Regions from separate parts of the Homo sapiens genome. Here region 2 is linked to region 1. Evidence: promoter capture Hi-C in 16 types of primary human blood cells and fetal thymus (Javierre and others, 2016). All regions are on one chromosome and are shown on one strand. The core of a region is centred on a gene start or on the middle of the fragment in contact, and the rest is flanking DNA. Distances in the headings are between cores, read along the strand shown.

Region 1 (2,845 bases), core at 217-2,716:
CTCCCACCTGAGTCTGTCATTATCCACCTGGGCCCAAAATACCCAGGTAGTGGCAGATAGAAACCACCTCCCCCCAGCTAACCCTACTTCTCTTTCCCGTCCCCCTCTCCAAGGTAGCCTCCTCCACCCCCCTTCCCTCTCTCTGCAGCCCTTGTCCCCCAGCCCCTGACTTCTGGGGCATCCAAGCAGGTCTCAGAGCCAGCCTGGGTCCTACATCTCCCTCTTCCTTGGCACGGAAGCAGTCACATTGACCCCTGCTTGGAGGACCCCAGCATTCCTGATTCTGCCTCTGCTACTACAATGCTGCCCAATCCACCGCCATAGGAGCCTAGAAAACCCTGGAGCCCACACAGCAACCTCACTCAACCCTCCACTCTCTGCACAGGGCCAAAGAGGTTTCTTCCAGGCAGGATGGAGCAGTGGTTAGAGCACAGGCACTGGAGTTATAGAAACCTAAGTTCAGATTCTAGCCCCTTCACTTTCTAGTTGACTTTGAGCAAGTGACTTTCAGAGCCTCCTAGAATTAGGTGACAGGGGTTGGGATCAGTCCCTACTCATGGGATGGTTGGGAAGATTAAATAAAATTATGCTTAGAAAACAAATTGCAAATGACAGCCACCCCATCATCCTTAAGCACCCTTCAAAACCCCACCCCAGGCTCATTTCCTCTTCAGGGTCATCCCTGGGAGGTTCCATGTTCATCCCTCCTTGATGAGCTTTGGGGGACATATCCTTCCACCTCTGCGCCCCCCAGGCAGATTTAGGAGAGTCATTTCAACACAAATAAAACTAGGCTTGGGAAACTCGACACCCACTCCTTTGGCTTCCAGCTCAGAGCCAGGTGGGGTAATTATTGCTGTCACTGAGACGTAATTAATAAGCATCCCTGCTATTTTGGCACCCCCAGTCTCTGGAGTTCAAAGTATATTCCTGTAGCCACCTCCTCCTTCCTCATTTTCAGCTACCAAATCCTCTCAACAACTCAAGGCCCAGAGAGGTTAAGCAACTCGCCTCAGGACACCCAGCACCTAGGCTGGGTGCCAATTCCCAGGCTGAGTCTGTGGCCTCCTGAACAGAACTGGGGAGTGGTGTATGCTGTGAAGAAGGCAACCCCCCTTCCTGCCCATCCTCTCCCTGACAGACTTTCCCCTTTCTCAGATGGACAGTGGGGGTGAGAAGCAGTGGGTTCCAGGAGGTAGCCTGTGGGCAAAGGGAGGGAGAGGAAGGCAGGGTTGGAGCAGGGAGGGAAGGCAGAGTCGGCTCAGGGTCCTGAATGAATGGGCCTAGAGCTGGAGAGGCCCAGGGAATAGGCAAAGTCTCAAGACAGGGCAGCCAGGCCAGTCTCCCCTCCCATCTCCACACACAGACCGACCTCTACTCACAGTCTGCGTGGGGACCCAGGTGTCCAGCCAGCCTGGAGCTCCTGCTGCTGGGCCGTGCTCCCCTGATGCGATTGGGCTCTCAGCTGGGGTTCCTGAGGCGGGGCCGTCCGGCACCCTGTGATGGGGCGTGGCCCCTGGGGAGGCTCCCACCAGCCCTCAGATTCCTCAGGGCCGCAGAGGTGTGGAGCTGGTTGGGCCGGTTCTTCACCCTCCTCCCCTGGTGCTTGCCTGTGCCCCAGCAGGGTGACAGTGATGTAGTAGCGGGTCCTCCTGGAAGAGGGACGCGTGTGTAGGGTCTGGGCAGGCTCTGGCAAGGCAGTCCCTGGGGTGGCGGGCTTGCCCTTTGTCCCCTCTGCCCTGGGGAAGGATGCAGGGTGGAGCAGCAGGGGTGCGTCTTCCAGGTTGCTGGGTGGCTCAGGCCTCAGAGGGACCTCTGAAGCTGTGGGTGGAGACTGCTGACAGGTGCAGCCTGAGGATCCCTGCTCCCCATGTCCAGGAGCAGGCCCTGGGTATTGGGGGAGCCTGGTACGAGCAGACTCTCCTGAGGCCACTTCCAGGGCCAGGCTCTCAGGCCCCAGGGAGGCATGGCTGGCCAGGTCGAAGGCGCTGCCCACCGCTGGCCTCTGTAGGCGCCCCAGGGACTGAGCAGGACCCCCCGAGATTCCTTGTTGCTTCCAAATCCAGAAATCATCATGGTCCCCTACATGGATGTCCCATTCTGAGCAGCTCTGGCCTTGGGCCTGGGTGAAAACAGAGATAGACACTGAGAGAGGCAGGGGCATAGTGACAGCTCCCCCTGCCCTCCAGGCACCCCTGGTACCTGGTATCTTCCCTGTCACAAGGAAGCTGAACAGGGCTCTGACACCAAGGTAAGCTGCCCTAGGGAGAGGCTGCTAAGGCCACCAGAGCTGGACAAAGGGACAGAGCTCTGGGAAGGCCCTTCAGCATTTAACTCACCCCTTCCCATTCTACGTAAGAGGAAAGTGGGGCCCAAAGAAGACGGCGACATGACTGAGATCACACAGCAAGCCAGCGAGGGCTCCCAACGCTCAGGTGCCGCACTCCCTCCCAGGTGACAAGGCACCCAGGGCCTGGCCGGCCATGCCCCCCAAAGGCTGGAGATCTCAGCTTCCTTGCAGTCCTGAGGTGCTTCCCCGCCCTGGGGCTGAGGGCTGGGTGGGAAGGCCTGCCTCAAGTGCCCATGGCCTCTGCCCATTCCAAGCTAACAGAGAGACTGCGGCCACCTCTCTTGTACCCTCCCAGCTTGAGACAGAACACCTGGGAGGATGTACCTGGGATATAAGGGAGCCAGAGAAGAGGGTTCCCCTGAAATGGGACAACACCTGACCTCTTCTGCTGTCTTCCCCTGGGGTCCAGCCTGGCTGTGGGGATAAGAGGAGAGGGCTCAGCACCCCAGACCCAGATGGACACTGCCCCCAAAACGACCCGTTTTAAAAGATGGG
Region 2 (2,941 bases), core at 302-2,801, 250 kb before region 1:
CCAGCCTAAGTAATATTCGCAGCTACATGAATTAGCGGGCCTTGTGGAGTCTACAGGTTTGTCCAGGGTCCAGGAGGTCAGGACCATCGAGAGGCTAAGTGTGGTTATCTGTGCCTCCTTCCCAGCCCCTGCTCTAAATAACCATAGAGCAAATATTTGAAGAATGTCAGCTTAAAGGAGTGTCTCACTCTGACCCTCAAATTTCTATTTATTTTTTAAATTGACAAAAATTGTATTTATTTACTCATATGTACAACATGATGCTTTGAAATATGAATACATTGTGGAATGGCTAAATTTAAGGCCCAGTGTAAATGCTACCTCCTCTCTAAAGCTTTCCTGCCCGCCATTCCCCTCCACAGAAGCACAGTTTGGATTTCCTCCCCTGGGCTATGTAACCTCAGCTGGCACTGGTTGAATTGTACTGTCTGCATATTTATATGTCTGTCTCCCCTCCCAGAGAAAGTCCATGAGGGCAGGGACCTTATCTTTCTGTTCACTGCTTTTTCTCAGCATCAAGCACAATTTCTTGCACGTGGTGGATATTCACCAAATAGCTGTTGACTTAACGAACAAAGTGCCACCATGTGCCAGGCACTAGTTGACTTCTGAAGAGAGGGGTATATGTCAAGACATTTGTTAGCCACCCACCAGCCTCTGAATTTAAGCCTGCCAGTAAGCCCCATCCTTCAGGACACAGAGCTTGGTCAAGGAGGGGCCCACAACCCTATCTCTTACCCCCTACTCCCTAGCCCCTAGCCAATCAGGTCCAACAAGACTTAATTTCAGGAATGTTGTTTGAGGAATAGAGAAGTTGACTTTCTCATTCCTGCAGGATATGATCTCATAAGGCTGAATTCCCACTGGTGACCCCGAGGCCCACAAGGGAAGCCAGCCTTAAGATGAAGGCAGCATCATGGGAGGCAGAACAGAGGAAACTAGAGTCTTTGGTGACATGTGAGCTGCTGAATCAAACTTCCTTCCCGAAGCTAGCCCTCCCACCTCCATTTCTCTTAGGTAAATGTACCAATCATTCCTTTCAGTCACTTTGAGTTGAGTTTCTGCTCTTGCAACATGAAGCATCCAGAAGAGGCCAGAGAATCAGAGGAAGCCGAAGCTTTAACACTTCAGGACCTGCTGAGGAGTCGGGTGAATCCTCAGTTTGGGACACTCCCAACACCCCCATCCAGCATGGTTTTCAGATGGTGGCATCCCCAGCAGCTCTTGGACCCAGGGGCAGGAGATGTGAACCTGGGTCTTAACCATCAGCTGCTCCAGCTGTTCTCAGTCCTCACCAAGAAGACAACTAGGACCCATCCAAAGACAAAAACAGCTAATGTTATACCTGGTGCAAGACCTTTGTGGGCCCCCAGATCACTTGTCTCAGGGGCTGGATCAGAAATAAACATTTTGATCTTCTTATTACAAGCATAGTGGAGGTGTAGGATTCAAGAATCAGAGTGTTGGAGCTATAAGGATCCTTAGAGATGAGCTGGTCAGACCCCCTCATTTTGCAGATGGGGAGACTGAGGCCCACAGCAGGGGGGAGTCTTTCTTGCTCAAGATGACACAGCGTGTTAGTGCCAAAGCTAATACCCTTCCTAAAGGAGTTTCTCCCTCAGCCTCCCCCTGCAGAAATGGGGCTGGGGTGGCTGGGCACAGTGGCTCACGCCTATAATCCCAACACTTTGGGAGGCCGAGGTGGGTGGATCACCTGAGGTCAGGAGTTCGAGACCAGCCTGGCCAATATGGCAAAACCCCATCTCTATCAAAAATACAAAAATTAGCCAGGCATGGTGGCGCATGCCTATGATCCTAGCTACGCAGGAGGCTCAGGCAGGAGAATCGCTTGAACCCAGGAGGCAGAGGTTGCAGTGAGCCAAGATTGTGCCATTGCACTCGAGCCTAGGCAACAGAGCAAGACTCCATCTCAAAAAAAAAAAAAAAAAAGAAAAGAAAAGAAAAGAAATGGGGCTGGGGCTCCCCAAGCTTGGGAAGAAGAAGGGAGGGGACACTGTCGGGGATTCTCTCTGCTACAGCAGTTAGGAGCTGCTCCGGAAACATTCACTGACAGGCCTAGCCAGTCGCCCTTAATGACCTCATTGTGGCATTTTGATAACAACTTGTGGTTGGCTCAGTGGGTACTAGGTCTCTAACAATGCATCAATGATGCCTCTCATAATTTCTCCAGAGGAGAAATTCAGGGTCAGCAATCTGGTGGGAAGAAAGACTCCAAGATGTGCCTTGGGGACAGGGTGTATATGGGAAGTCTGTAATTTCCACTCAACTTCACTGTGAACCTAAAACTTCTCTAAAAATAAAGTCTTTTAAAACACACACACACACAACCGGGCATGGTGGCTCATGCCTGAAATCCCAGCACTTTGGGAGGCCAAGGCGGGCAGATCACTTAAAGCCAGGGGTTCAAGGCTAGCCTGGCCAACATGGTGAAACCCCATCTCTACTAAAAATACAAAAATGAGCCAGGAGTGGTGGCATGCGCCTGTATTCCAGCTACTCGGGCGCCTGTAATTCCAGCTACTCAGGGGGCTGAGGTGGGAGAATCGCTTGAACCCAGGAGGCGGAGGTTGCAGTAAGCCAAGATTGTGCCACTGCACTCCAGCCTGGGGGACAGAGCGAGACTCCATCTCAAACACACACACACACACACACACACACACACACACACACACGCAGTTAGACCCCAATTGAAGTGCCTGTGTGACTTTGGACAAGTTCTTTCACCTCTTAGAACCTTTGTTTCCTCAGTTGTAAAAGGGAGGACAATAATAGCACATGCTTTACAGGGTCACTGTGCAGATTAGATGAGATCACTCTATAAACAGTACTTTGCACAGTGCCTCGCACAGAAGTTAGTATGAATATTACCTATTATTTATTTATATTACCGATTTGTATTTATTTATCTATAGTTTATAGG

What was found. Contacts are between HindIII fragments. The CHiCAGO score rates a contact against its expected background, and 5 or more counts as called.
Region 2: a contact is called between a fragment that was not itself captured here and the fragment with the promoter of CRYBG2 in region 1, in 1 of 17 cell types (endothelial precursors). The highest score is 5.1, in endothelial precursors.

The regions. Positions count from the first base shown.
Region 1 is chr1:26,352,664-26,355,508 of GRCh38, forward strand. CRYBG2 (crystallin beta-gamma domain containing 2) reads right to left here and starts at 1,467. Exons shown (of 20, transcript NM_001039775.4): 1 at 1,373-1,467. The HindIII fragment of the contact is 7,544 bases long and covers 1-2,845 here.
Region 2 is chr1:26,101,833-26,104,773 of GRCh38, forward strand. No RefSeq gene overlaps it. Among named protein-coding and RNA genes, the nearest start is that of PDIK1L, 8.5 kb to the right of the region's middle. The HindIII fragment of the contact is 872 bases long and covers 1,116-1,987 here.